2 separate regions of the Homo sapiens genome follow, and region 1 is linked to region 2. The links are contacts of gene promoters, found by promoter capture Hi-C in blood cells and fetal thymus (Javierre and others, 2016). All regions are on one chromosome and are shown on one strand. Each heading gives the region's core, a stretch centred on a gene start or on the middle of the fragment in contact. The rest is flanking DNA. Distances are from core to core; before and after follow the strand shown.

Evidence for each region. Contacts are between HindIII fragments. The CHiCAGO score rates a contact against its expected background, and 5 or more counts as called.
Region 1: the fragment with the promoter of C12orf57 here is called in contact with the fragment with the promoter of CD27 in region 2 in 1 of 17 cell types (non-activated CD4 T cells); the score reaches 6.9 in non-activated CD4 T cells.

The regions. Positions count from the first base shown.
Region 1 is chr12:6,939,229-6,945,922 of GRCh38, forward strand. It overlaps C12orf57 (chromosome 12 open reading frame 57), which reads left to right and starts at 4,794. Exons shown (of 3, transcript NM_138425.4): 1 at 4,794-4,945; 2 at 5,248-5,424; 3 at 6,543-6,694. The coding sequence starts at 4,894. The coding sequence ends at 6,694. RNU7-1 (RNA, U7 small nuclear 1) reads left to right here and starts at 4,588; the gene lies at 4,588-4,650. It overlaps ATN1 (atrophin 1), which reads left to right. Exons shown (of 10, transcript NM_001940.4): 8 at 1,652-1,795; 9 at 2,146-2,326; 10 at 2,519-3,093. The coding sequence ends at 2,552. RefSeq lists enhancers at 4,602-5,181, 4,681-4,870, 5,171-5,290, 5,182-5,761, 5,301-5,450 and 3 more and a silencer at 5,084-5,343. The HindIII fragment of the contact is 10,579 bases long and covers 4,733-6,694 here.
Region 2 is chr12:6,440,113-6,446,830 of GRCh38, forward strand. CD27 (CD27 molecule) reads left to right here and starts at 4,843. Exons shown (of 6, transcript NM_001242.5): 1 at 4,843-5,119; 2 at 5,312-5,443. The coding sequence starts at 4,984. It overlaps CD27-AS1 (CD27 antisense RNA 1), which reads right to left. Exons shown (of 6, transcript NR_015382.2): 5 at 3,434-3,605. RefSeq lists silencers at 2,625-2,764, 2,865-2,944 and enhancers at 3,935-4,004, 4,025-4,074, 4,979-5,480, 5,025-5,084, 5,115-5,294 and 1 more. The HindIII fragment of the contact is 1,289 bases long and covers 4,255-5,543 here.

The sequences.
Region 1 (6,694 bases), core at 3,544-6,043, 500 kb after region 2:
CATGACTGGGCTCTTTCATTCCTATGGCCAAGACTTTCCTCCCCTGGCCTGGCATGAACCTTTCCTGAGATTGCTGCCCTGAACTTTGCCTCCCTGACGTTCTCTCAGCCTTGTCTTCTCATGGCCTTCCCTGGCCACAAAGCCTGTATGCCCCACAGCCCAGTTCTCTCCATAGTCTAGTATCCTTCCCATGACAGAGGCCCACACGGGAGCTTTTGAAGGACACTTTTCTATTCTCACAGCCCCATTCTCCCAAGCCCTTCACAAACCTGTCTTCTTATTTATTTTTTTGAGACATGGTCTGGCTCTGCCACCCAGGCTGGAGTGTAGTGGCGCAATCACAGCTCACTGCAGCCTCGACTTCCCGGTCTCAAGTGATCCTCCTACCTCAGCCTCTGGAGTAGCTGGGATTACAGGCGTGTGTCACCATACCTGGCTACTTTTTGTATTTTTGGTAGAGACGGGGTTTCGCCATGTTGGCCATGGCTGGTCTCAAATTCCTGAGCTCAAAGCGATCCACCCACCTCGGCCTCCCAAAGTCCTGAGATTACAGGCGTGAGCCACCGTGCCCAACCCACAAACCTATCTTCTGATTTCTCTGGATTCAACTCATTTTTTGCCATTTTCTCCTCTTCTCCCTCTGCGAGGTCTTTCATGTTTTTCCCCATCTCTAGATCTGTAACTTTCTAGAAAGGGCCCTGTAGCTTTGGGTTTGGGTGTCATAGGCGATAATGAGCTTTACTTACTATCCTTTCACCATTTTTTGGTTTTTGAGACGGAGTCTCGCCCTGTCACCAAGCTGGAGTGCAGTGGCGCGATCTCGGCTTACTGCAACCTCCGCCTCTGGGGTTCAAGTGATTCTTCTGCCTCAGCAGGCACTGCCTGCCCGAGTAGCTGGGACTGCAGGCGTGTGCCACCAAGTACAGCTAATTTTTGTATTTTTAGTAGACACGGGGTTTCACCATGTTGGCCAGGATAGTCTTGATCTCTTGACCTTGTGATCCACCCGCCTTGGCCTCCCAAAGTGCTGGAATTACAAGCGTGAGCCACCGCACCCGGCTTCCTTTTTTTCTTTTGCCCAGACTGGAGTGCAGTGGCGCGATCTCGGCTCACTGCAGCTTCCACCTCCCAGGTTCAAGCGATTCTCCTGCCTCAGCCTCCCGAGGAGCTGGGACTATAGGCGTGTGCCACCCTGCCTGGCTAATTTTTTTGTATTTTTTGTAGAAACAGGGTTTCACCATCTTGGCCAGGCTGGTCTTGAACTCCTCACCTCAGGTGAGCTGCCTGCCTCAGCCTCCCAAAGTGCTGAGATTATAGGCTTGAGCCACTGTGCCCGGCCTCTTCTTGTCTTATTTTCTAAACTTCTATCATCTTCCACCTTCTTCACGCAGTCTACCTCTCTCTGTCCTTCCCCTCAGACCCTTCTGATGACTGTAATCTCCTGTCCTGTGTCATCCATATGTCCCTCCTCCAGTAGGGCTCAGCCTGTCCACCCCTGCCAGGCCTCTAGTTCTTCCACTCTGCCTTTGTTCCACTTTGGACCTCCTTGTGTTTGTCTGACTCAGTTCCCAGGCTTGGATCCCTTCACCCAAATGCATGGTTTGCCCCAAACCTGCCTTCTGGTGACACCTTCCTCTTCTCTGCCCTCCAGCCTCTGCCTCGGTGCACCCTCTCATTGACCCCCTGGCCTCAGGGTCTCACCTTACCCGGATCCCCTACCCAGCTGGAACTCTCCCTAACCCCCTGCTTCCTCACCCTCTGCACGAGAACGAAGTTCTTCGTCACCAGCTCTTTGGTAAGGATGGAAGTTGGGGTAGGCAGCTCCAATGAGAAAAGGGCAGAAAGGAGGTATTTGGGTGGGGGGATGGGCCTAGTTGGGCTTGGGGAGGGATGAGGAGGTGCCTAGAGGAGCTGGGCATGGGAATAGGAGAGCTGGAGCTCTGCCCAAGAGAAGCACGAGTTTTAGTGTCAGCCTAAGAGGTTCGAATCCCAATTCCACCCTACCACTGGCAACTTACAGAACTGGGTGTGTTACCTCACTTTTTAGTTCATTACCTTTGTATGTAAAGGAGCTGGCTATCCCCTGGTCCAGAGCAGGTACTTGTTATCCGTTGGTCATATGCCCCTTGCCCTTCCTGCTCACAGCTGCCCCTTACCGGGACCTGCCGGCCTCCCTTTCTGCCCCGATGTCAGCAGCTCATCAGCTGCAGGCCATGCACGCACAGTCAGCTGAGCTGCAGCGCTTGGCGCTGGAACAGCAGCAGTGGCTGCATGCCCATCACCCGCTGCACAGTGTGCCGCTGCCTGCCCAGGAGGACTACTACAGGTACCCTAGGGTGCCCCAGCCCAGGGGACATGGGCTCAGCGAGCCTGGGAGGAGCTGTGGGCATGGTACGGCTGGGCACCGTGCTCCTGGGGGAGGGAACCCCTCCTCTCCCAACCCCTTCGGTAAGAGGGGGCAAGGTCAGAGTTGGTCTCAAGTCTCTTACCTCTCTGCTATGCACTGCCCCTTCCCTAGTCACCTGAAGAAGGAAAGCGACAAGCCACTGTAGAACCTGCGATCAAGAGAGCACCATGGCTCCTACATTGGACCTTGGAGCACCCCCACCCTCCCCCCACCGTGCCCTTGGCCTGCCACCCAGAGCCAAGAGGGTGCTGCTCAGTTGCAGGGCCTCCGCAGCTGGACAGAGAGTGGGGGAGGGAGGGACAGACAGAAGGCCAAGGCCCGATGTGGTGTGCAGAGGTGGGGAGGTGGCGAGGATGGGGACAGAAAGCGCACAGAATCTTGGACCAGGTCTCTCTTCCTTGTCCCCCCTGCTTTTCTCCTCCCCCATGCCCAACCCCTGTGGCCGCCGCCCCTCCCCTGCCCCGTTGGTGTGATTATTTCATCTGTTAGATGTGGCTGTTTTGCGTAGCATCGTGTGCCACCCCTGCCCCTCCCCGATCCCTGTGTGCGCGCCCCCTCTGCAATGTATGCCCCTTGCCCCTTCCCCACACTAATAATTTATATATATAAATATCTATATGACGCTCTTAAAAAAACATCCCAACCAAAACCAACCAAACAAAAACATCCTCACAACTCCCCAGGAACATGGCTGTGACTATTCTTTGCGGGATATGGGGGTGAGGCTGGGTCTCAGTGCAGCGGTGCTTAGAGAGAACTGCAGCCAGGGCCTGGCAGGGAAGCGGGAAGAGACCAGACCTTCTTAAGGAACGGGGTGTGGGGGCTGGGAAGAATTGGAGAGGGGATCCCTGAAGAGCCCAGAGCCTTGACTCAGCTGGAGGCGGTACCATGGGTGCTGGTGCCCCCTCCTGCCCCAAGGCTGGGCAGGACCGCTGCGCGCCAGTGGAGGCCTCGGTCTGGGCTCTGTGGCTTATGCCTGTGAGACGCGGGTGGATTGCTTGAGCCCAGGAGTTGGAAACCAGCTTGGGCAACATAGAGAAACCCCATCTTAAGACAAAATCAGCTGGGGGTTGTGGTGCACTTGTGGTCCCAGCTACTCAGGAGGCTGAGGTGGGAGGATCACTTGGGGGTCGAGGCTACAGTGAGTCATGATCGCACCACTGCACTCTAGCCTGGGTGACAGAGCAAGGCCCTATCTCAAAACAAACAAACAAAAGACACCCCAACCAACCAAACACTAGAGGCCTGGGACAGGCCCACCTCTGACGTGGTCAGTTCTAGGAATCTATTCAGACGGGTCTCACTGCTAGGAGCCACCAGAGTCCTCCGGAACAAGGGCTTCAGAGTCCTGAAACCTTTCCGTGGAATACTTTAAGAAACGGTTATGAGGCCAGGCGCGACGGCTCACGCTGGTAATCCCAGGACTTTGGGAGGCCGAGGCGGGCGGATCACGAGGTCAGGAGTTCCAGACCAGCTTGGCCAACATGGCAAAACCCTGTCTCTACTAAAAACAAAACATTAGCTGGGCATGGTGGCGCGCGCCTGTCGTCCCAGCGACTTGGGAGGTTGAGGCAGGAGAATCGCTTGAACCCGGGAGGTGGAGGTTATGGTGAGCCAAGATCCCCCCCAGCTGCACTCCAGCTTGGCGACAGAGCAAGACTCCGTCTCAAAAACAAAAAACAAAGCCGGTTATGAAGCGGGGGTGGGGTGGGCTAGTTTTAATAGGTCCAGGCGATTAGTACCTGGCATCCTTAACCACCTACAGTTTGAGAAGGGAGTGGGTGATAAAAGCCTGGAAGGGAAGGGAAATCGGGCCGGGCATTAGGCTCCATCGCTCATCAATAGACAAGGCCTTTAGGAAACTGCGACAACGGCTTTTGCTCTGGGCCTTTACTGCCGAATCCAGGTCTCCGGGCTTAACAACAACGAAGGGGCTGTGACTGGCTGCTTTCTCAACCAATCAGCACCGAACTCATTTGCATGGGCTGAGAACAAATGTTCGCGAACTCTAGAAATGAATGACTTAAGTAAGTTCCTTAGAATATTATTTTTCCTACTGAAAGTTACCACATGCGTCGTTGTTTATACAGTAATAGGAACAAGAAAAAAGTCACCTAAGCTCACCCTCATCAATTGTGGAGTTCCTTTATATCCCATCTTCTCTCCAAACACATACGCAGCAGTGTTACAGCTCTTTTAGAATTTGTCTAGTAGGCTTTCTGGCTTTTTACCGGAAAGCCCCTCTTATGATGTTTGTTGCCAATGATAGATTGTTTTCACTGTGCAAAAATTATGGGTAGTTTTGGTGGTCTTGATGCAGTTGTAAGCTTGGGGTATGAAGGTTTGGGCCACGCCTGGGCGCTTCCGGCTGCGCCGGATGCTGTTTCCTTTCCGCTCCCAGGGGCGTTGGGAACGGTTGTAGGACGTGGCTCTTTATTCGTGAGTTTTCCATTTACCTCCGCTGAACCTAGAGCTTCAGACGCCCTATGGCGTCCGCCTCGACCCAACCGGCGGCCTTGAGCGCTGAGCAAGCAAAGGGTGAGAATCGTCCTAGTCAAGGCATAGGCTGCTGGCCTGGGGTAGTCAAGGCATGGGCTGCTGGTCTGGGGAGGATGCGGGCGGAGGATGTGGGGCGACAAACCTGGCTACGTCCGCCGGGAAAATGGGGTAGGGGACGCCGGGTACCGTCCTTCTAAGTGGGGCGCTTGCCCCCAAGACTTGGGATCTTATTGGGTTACCTACAGCCTCAATCCACTAATTCCTTGCGCTCTCCGCTGGGCCCGCTGTCTGTTCTCCGACGCCTACCCGGGACGCCTCCCTGGGATGCTTCTGGCGCGCAGTGGTCCTCGCGGAGGTGATCCAGGCGTTCTCCGCCCCGGAGAATGCAGTGCGCATGGACGAGGCTCGGGATAACGCCTGCAACGACATGGGTAAGATGCTGCAATTCGTGCTGCCCGTGGCCACGCAGATCCAGCAGGAGGTTATCAAAGCCTATGGCTTCAGCTGCGACGGGGAAGGTGGGTCAGACGCGGGAAGGCGGGTCAGACGCGGGAAGGCGGGAGTTGGGTCGGGAGAGGGCGCCGGATCTGTGGGCCCATGAGCGGTTGTCCCCTTTCTCGCCACACGGCGGCAGCCACAATCTGACTAACATTCTTGGCACTCAGAGCCCAGGGTCTACCCTGAGCTTGTGCGTCCGAGTTGCGTTTTGTACAGTAGAGGTTCTGTATCCCTTACCCGAAATGGTTGGGACCGGAAGTGTTTCGGGTTTTTTCAGATTTCGGAATATTTACATATACATGGATATCTTGGGGGATGGGACCTAAATCTGAACACGAAATTGTTTTGTTTCATATACACGCACCTTATGCACATAGCCTGAGGGTAATTTTATATAATAGTCTGAATAATTTTGTGCATGAGACAAAGTTTTGACTGCGTTTTGACTACAGTCTCCCCCACCCCCCACTATGAAGTCAGGTGTGGAATTTTCCATTTTCGGCCTCACACTGGCACTCATAATTTCAGATTTTGGATTTTCTAATTAAGGATGGTCAACCTGTACTGTTAATCACATTATTATTCCATTTTGTGATGAGGAAGCAAACTCTAATGGTGCAGACTCTCGAGTAGCAGAGCTGGACTTAAATGCTGTTGTGCCACCTTTTAGTGACATGTCTGCATGACAGCAGTGGCTGCAGTCTCTCCAGGGTGTTTCAGCTAATTTTTGTTTGGGGGGGGTTGGTGGTTAAATTTTTGGTGAGATCCTGGTGTTCCCCAAAGGTGTTGACTGATTCAGCTCTGCTGCCTCATAGCCTTCCTGAGTTCCAGCTACAGACCTGGGGTCTCGTGTTCATTCTTGGGGTTCCAGTGACTAAACTGCTAAAATGGTTCACCTGAGAGCAAGAAGCACACTGCCTTGGGACATTTTCATTCACTGCATCCCATCTAGTTGTGCCCAGTGTAGACCAAATGTCATCATCCAAACCACACGGGACAGAGGCCTGCATGCGTCCTGTTTGGCAAACAGCTGCCCAGCCAGTGGGGGAGCAGTTCATGCTTAGACTACCACCCCCTCCAGGTGTCTTAGGCACGCTGGTCCTTAGGAGAAGGGTTGACCTTCCACTCCCTCTTGCAGGTGTCCTTAAGTTTGCTCGCTTGGTCAAGTCCTACGAAGCCCAGGATCCTGAGATCGCCAGCCTGTCAGGCAAGCTGAAGGCGCTGTTTCTGCCGCCCATGACCCTGCCACCCCATGGGCCTGCTGCTGGTGGCAGCGTGGCCGCCTCCTGA
Region 2 (6,718 bases), core at 3,593-6,092:
CCGGGTGCAGTGGCTCACATCTGTAATCCCAGCACTTTGAGAGGCCAAGGTAGGTGGATCACTTGAGCTCAAGAGTTCGAGACAAGCCTGACCAACATGGTGAAACCACGTCTCTACTAACAATACAAAAATTAGCCAGGTGTGGTGGCGCACACCTGTAATCCCAGCTACTAAGGAGGCTGAGGCAGGAGAATCACTTGACCTCAGGAGGAGGAGGTTGCAGTGAGCCAAGATCATGCCACTGCACTCCAGCCTGGGCAACAGAGCAAGACAGCCTAAAAAAAATAATAATAATAACAGTGAAACAGCTACACACAAGCAAATCAAGTTCTACCAGGCTTTCAAGGAACAGATTATCCCTATTGTATATAATCTGTATATAAAAAAATAAAAAATAGCACTTAAAAAACAAGTGGTCAAAGCAAGGAAAATAGAATCGTGTCACAGAAACCAAGGGAAGTAATAATTCTCATGTAGGTGGAGAGCTGCCAGATCCCACATATCTCTGTTAAACTTTGCTTCCTGGATGAGGCACTCCCTACCCCTTAAATCCCCCTATTAGGGGTATAGACACCTATATTGCACCCCAACTCTCTCCTTCATAGCAATAATGACCATTACTAACTAATTTTAATTTTGTTTTGTTTTTTGGGTTTTGTGAGATGAGGTCTTGCTCTATCTCCCAGGCTTGAGTGCACTGGCATGATCATGGCTCACTGCAACCTCGACCCCCTGGGCTCAAGTGATCCTCCCACCTCAGCCTTCCGAGTGGCTGGGACCACAGGCACGTGCCACCACACCCAGTTAATTTATTTTTATTATGTGTAGAGACGGGGTGTCACTCTGTTGCCCAGGCTGGTCTTAAACTCCTAGGCTCAAGCAATCCTTCCGCCTCGGCCTCCCAACGTGACTGGGATTCCAGGTGTGAGCCGCCTCACCTGGCCAATTTTACATTTGTCTTTGAGATTATATGATCGATGTCTGACTCTCACACTGGTGTGTCAACTCCGTCAGGGCAGAAACCACATATTTGTCTGTTTGTTTTTCATCTTTGTGCCCCATTACTTGGCTGGTTCCTAACACAAAATGAATGTGCAAAAAACGCTTGTCAAATGAATGAGGAGGTCTAAGGGGCCTTGAGCCCTCTGACGTTTCCATTTTATAATTGTGGACAGAGCCGCTACAGCACAAAGCTGAGCTGGACCATCCAATGTTTAGCCAGTGCCTTACGTGCTAGGAGACACTGGGAGCTGTGCTGGGCTTCTGAGGAGTGGGCAGAGGCTGGAAATACCCATAGTTGGTCAGTCTCCTGTGTCACCCAGACTGGGGAGGTGCAGAAATGAAAATTACAGAGCTGCGAGGACCCAGAACCTCATTAATGAGCTTAACTCACTGTCCTGACCAGGTGGCCTCTCAAAGCCTTGCTGGGAAGGAGGCTTTAAGGTGGTGGGGGCAGCAGTGCTGGTGGTGGTCATCGAAGAAAGTGGGAGTCGGGGAGGAAGCAATGGGGAGCAGGGGACAAAGAGGGCCAGACAAACTCAGAGCTTCAGGTGATGAGACTCAGGAAGCCTAAGTCAGGAACAGTGATTGCGGACATCTTTGTCCCATAACAGAACTTCCTCCTAAGGAAAGGTCTTGCAGAGACTGGTCCTGCTGAGCGCTTTAACAGGTTATTGATTCATAAAAATTGGAGAAAAAAGACAAAGTCTGCCACACCTAACAGCCTTCTGTTTAGAGCTGGTTTAGAGGAAACTTTAAGCAAGTCTTGTGTCCAACAATTTGGGCCTGAGGCAGGGTACAGGTAAGGGAACAGACAGGAGACACGGAGGCAAGAACAAGACTTTAGCTGAAAGAGAAATCAGAGCCAGAGGCAGCCACAAGAACACCCAACCTACTGGAACTCATGCAGGTGGACAGCCTGCCCAGGACTTGCCCTGAGTGGGAAGCAAAGAGCATCTTATCTAGATTTTAAGGAGCAGGGTGCCCCTGGCTGACATCTAGGCTACAGTCACTGGGCCAGGTGGAGGGTTGGTCAGGCCCTCTCAAAAGTCATGAGAGGCCAGGCACAGTGGCTCACGCTTGTAATCCCAACACTTTGGGAGGCCGAGGAGGGCAGATCACTTGAGGCCAGGAGTTTGAGACCAGCCTGGCCAACATAGTGAAACCCCGTCTCTACTAAAAATACAAAAAATTAGCCGGGTATGGTGGCCGGTGCCTATAATCCCAGCTACTTGGGAGGCTGATGTATAAGAATCGCTTGAACCTGGGAGGCAAAGGTTGCAGTGAGCTGAGATCATGCCACTGCACTCCAGCCTGGGCAACAGTGAGAGACCCTTTCTCAAAAAAAAAAAAAAAAAAAAGAACCAAAAAAAGTCATGAGAGTCCTCAGAGTTCTCAAGAAGGGCTGCTGTGGGCCTGTTTCTGGAAAGGAAAGAAAAGCAGGGAGCTGTTGAGAAAATACCATATGTTTTTATGCCCCAGCCAGGCATGGGGGAGAGGCTGACCCCAAAAGAGAAAGTGGTTGTGTGAGATTTCAAGGAAGATGTCAGCGGGCTGCATCCCAGGGCCTCTAGACAAAAGGAAGGGCCCAGCCAGGCATGGTGGCTCGTGCCTGTAATCCCAGCACTTTGGGAGGCCGAGGCAGGCAGATCACCTGAGGCTAGGTGTTCTGGTCCAGCCTGGCCAACATGACAAAACCCCATCTCTACTAAAAATACAAAAAATAAGCTGGGCGCGGTGGCTCTCCCCTGTAATCCCAGCCAAGGTGGGCGGATCAACTTGAGGCCAGCCTGACCAACGTGGCAAAACTCCATCTCTACTAAAAATACAAAAATTAGCTGAGCGTGGTGGCACGCACCTGTCATCCCAGTTACTCAGGAGGCTGAGGCGTGAGAATGGCTTGAGCCTGGGAGACAGAGGTTGCAGTGAGCTGAGATTGCATCATTGCACTCTAGCCTGGGTGACAGAGTGAAATGGAGGGAGGAAAAAAAAAAAAAAGGAAGGTCCCGTCCAGGGAGCCAGCCTAGGATGGGGAAGGCTCACCAGAAGTGGATGCAAAGAGTGCTGGAGATGAGCTCATTCTATTTGCCTAGGAAAGAAAAACGTCCAGAAACCTGGCCTTCCTCCTCTTGGCCGAGGCCCTCCAGGAAAGCCAGGCAGACCCTGCTCCTGCTCTGACCCCCTGGAGAAGTGATATGTAGAAAAGAGGAGATGGGCTTTGGCCCAGAGGACAGCAGCGTTAGGCTAGTGAGCAGTTCCCAGTCGGTTCAAGGTTGCTAGGCTCAGCGAACTGCAAGTCCCTGTTCGACAAGTTTCTTCCTAAAGGTCCCCAGTTCCTCATGATTCTTCTGAGGGTCTCATCCACCCTCCCAGGGCCTGCAGTCAGCTAGCCACCCCACTGCCCCATGCCTGCAGTGAACACATTTACCACAACCTGGAAATGGCTGGTGACAGAAAAGTCCTCACGGCCACAACACTCTCTGCGGTGGGAATTCAGGTGCCTTGCCTGATGGTGACAAAGCTGGTTTTGCATAAACAGCTCTCTGAATCACACCCAAATGTGGCTTCTGACTTGAGTGGACCCCCATGAAGAGCTGCAGAGGGGGCTGGGAAAAGACAAGAGAATGGAGAAAATGAGGAGAAAGGAAACTACAGAGTGAGATAGAGAACAGATCTGACAGGTGTGACCACAGCAGTGTGACATTTATGAACAGTGTGGAAACAACGGCAAAGCCCCTAAATTAAAAACTTCCTGGGGAAATAAGCCACTCCACATATCGGTTGCTGAGGAAAGAGTGGAGGAGGCTGTTGACCCGTGTGTGTCCCCATGACTCAAAGAGGGAAAAGTCTAGCTGTTTCCAATATCCCGAAATCAGTCTTGCTGGGAGAACTGGGAAAATAAAAAAGAGATGACCCCCGTAGGAAGCTACCTTTAATCCCAAGTGCCCAAGGCTAGGAGAGAAGATGCTCCAGGCGATCCAGGACACCAGTGACTGACACAGCCAGAGGTGGGAAAGGGGAGGATAAAGATGGCACAAAAGTGAGGAGTGAGCAAGGGTCTGAGAGGGAAGGCCATGTGGGCAGTAGGTGGCACCCACATCAGAGACTGACATGAGGATTAAAGGAGAGCATAGGTGATCGGTCAGAGTGTGACAGAAGAGAGGCAGCTCTACACCCCTTGCTTGCAATTCTGAGCATTCTGTAGCAAACTCGTTTGGCCATCAAACCAGACCTCAATTGAGACAAGGCTATTTAAGCTTCCTCCCAGTTGGTGTAAATATTCAATAGTTTTGCTGCAGAAATGTTGCGTTTGATTATGAGACTACCCCAACTCCCCAAGGGTGTTTTGTGGTGCTGGTTTCTGTATAAACCTGAAAAATTCTGAATTCCAAAACTTATCTGACCCCCAAAGTTTCAGATAAGAGCTTGTGGACCTGTGCTCAATTCTGGTTCTCCTTCCTTCTTTCAACTGTTGTCTGTGAAAGGAGGGATGCAGGTATGGGAGACAGGAGTCCTGCGAATTCGTCTGTAAACTGTGGACGGGGGGGTGGGTGGGGGGGGGTAACGTGGGCACCTTTGTGCACAAGTGCATGAATAGGAGGGGTGAGCAACTGTGTGTCCATCACCTTTTTGTCAAAGAAGCAGGAGTCAGTGGGCTACGTGCTTCATGAGCAGGAGAGGCGGAAACTAAGGAAGGCTCATGTGTTGGAGGAAGCATGTTTGAAGAGCAGCAGGTCTCACAGAGTTTGCTCTTTAATACTCTCCCCAGCACACGGAAGGGGAAGGGGGTGGAGGTTGCTGCTATGAGAGAGAAAAAAAAAACAGCCACAATAGAGATTCTGCCTTCAAAGGTTGGCTTGCCACCTGAAGCAGCCACTGCCCAGGGGGTGCAAAGAAGAGACAGCAGCGCCCAGCTTGGAGGTGCTAACTCCAGAGGCCAGCATCAGCAACTGGGCACAGAAAGGAGCCGCCTGGGCAGGGACCATGGCACGGCCACATCCCTGGTGGCTGTGCGTTCTGGGGACCCTGGTGGGGCTCTCAGCTACTCCAGCCCCCAAGAGCTGCCCAGAGAGGCACTACTGGGCTCAGGGAAAGCTGTGCTGCCAGATGTGTGAGCCAGGTAAGAGGGGGCCTTGGTAAGGGCCAGGTGAGTGGCGAAAGAGAGAGGACTGGGGTTAATACAGTAAATAGGCGCAGGGTGAGACTGAGCTCAAGCAAGGAGGGAAATCCTGCAGCTGTGGGGAGGCACCACCTTGAAGAGGGCAGAGAACCAGCCCTTCTCAGGCCTTGATCCCTTACCCTCTCCTCCCAGGAACATTCCTCGTGAAGGACTGTGACCAGCATAGAAAGGCTGCTCAGTGTGATCCTTGCATACCGGGGGTCTCCTTCTCTCCTGACCACCACACCCGGCCCCACTGTGAGAGCTGTCGGCACTGTAACTCTGGTGAGGTGGGCAAGGGTGTGTAGGTGGGGACGATGGACAAGCATCTGGGGGAGCAAGGCTGGTGACGGGTTTGGGGGTGCAAGGAGGATGACGGGGCCAAAGCTTTGGCCTTCTTCAAGGCTCACAGCAAGTGGAGCCAATGCTGGGAAATGCGGCACCCTAGGTGGGGCATGAATTAACGTGGGCAGACATCTAGTATTCCAGGAAAGGGATAAATAGAATTTGAGGGATTGGTGAGAACGGGTCTATGGATAGGATCAAGACAATAAAATGAGAGAAGTGGCTCTATGACCCCAGATTTCGGGCAAGCAACCCCCAACCAATAAACTGACTGTGTTCCCAGAGTGCACATGTGCAGGTTGGCCATTGGGAATTTGGAATACATCTTTCTAAGGAAATAACAAAGCAACCCAATAGGTAACAACCTTTTTTTGCACAAAAGCCAATTTGAGAAAATGAGTATGTATGTAGCCTGTGTTTTTATTTTATAGTTCCAAAAAAAAAGGTTTTTTTTAAACTAAGAAGTATAATATCTGCAGTTGTGCTTATGAATGCTGTTATTATTTCTCCATCTTCGCTACAATTTCAGAAACTACGGCCAGTATACACTAGAATAGCAGGCTTTAAAGTGGCCCCTTTGAACAAATGTTCTCTAGCAAGACACTTTTTAGAACCAGGTAACTGTAACTATTAAACTACCTACTTGCAAAACGTGTTTGGTGTCACTGGGTCTCTTGGTACTGGGTTTTGTTTTGTTTAGTTTAGAGACAAGGTCTAGCTCTGTCACCCAGGCTGGAGTGCAGTGGTGCAATCATAGCTCCCCACAGCCTTGAACTCCTGGGCTCAAGCAATCTTCTAGTCTCAGCCTCTGAAAGTGCCAGGATTACAGGTGTGAGCTGTAGTGCCTGGTCCCGTAAAAACAAAAACAAAAACCAACACCAGATGTGGTGGCTCATGCCTATAATCCCAGCACTTGGGAGGCCAAGGCAGAAGGGTATTTGCATATTTTGTAGAGACTTGAGCCCAGGAGCTTGAGACCAGCTGGGCAACATAGTGAGACCTTGTCTCTAAAAAAATTGGCTGGTCATGGTAGTGCACCTGCAGTCCCAGCTACTTGGGAGGCTGAGATGGGAAGATCACTTGAGCCCAAGAGGTCCCCAAGAGGTCCAGGCTGCTCACATCACTGCACTCCAGCCTGGGTAACAGAGCAAAACCCTTTTTCACACACACACACACACACACACAAAAAGCCAGAGCAGTGGCTCACACTTGTAA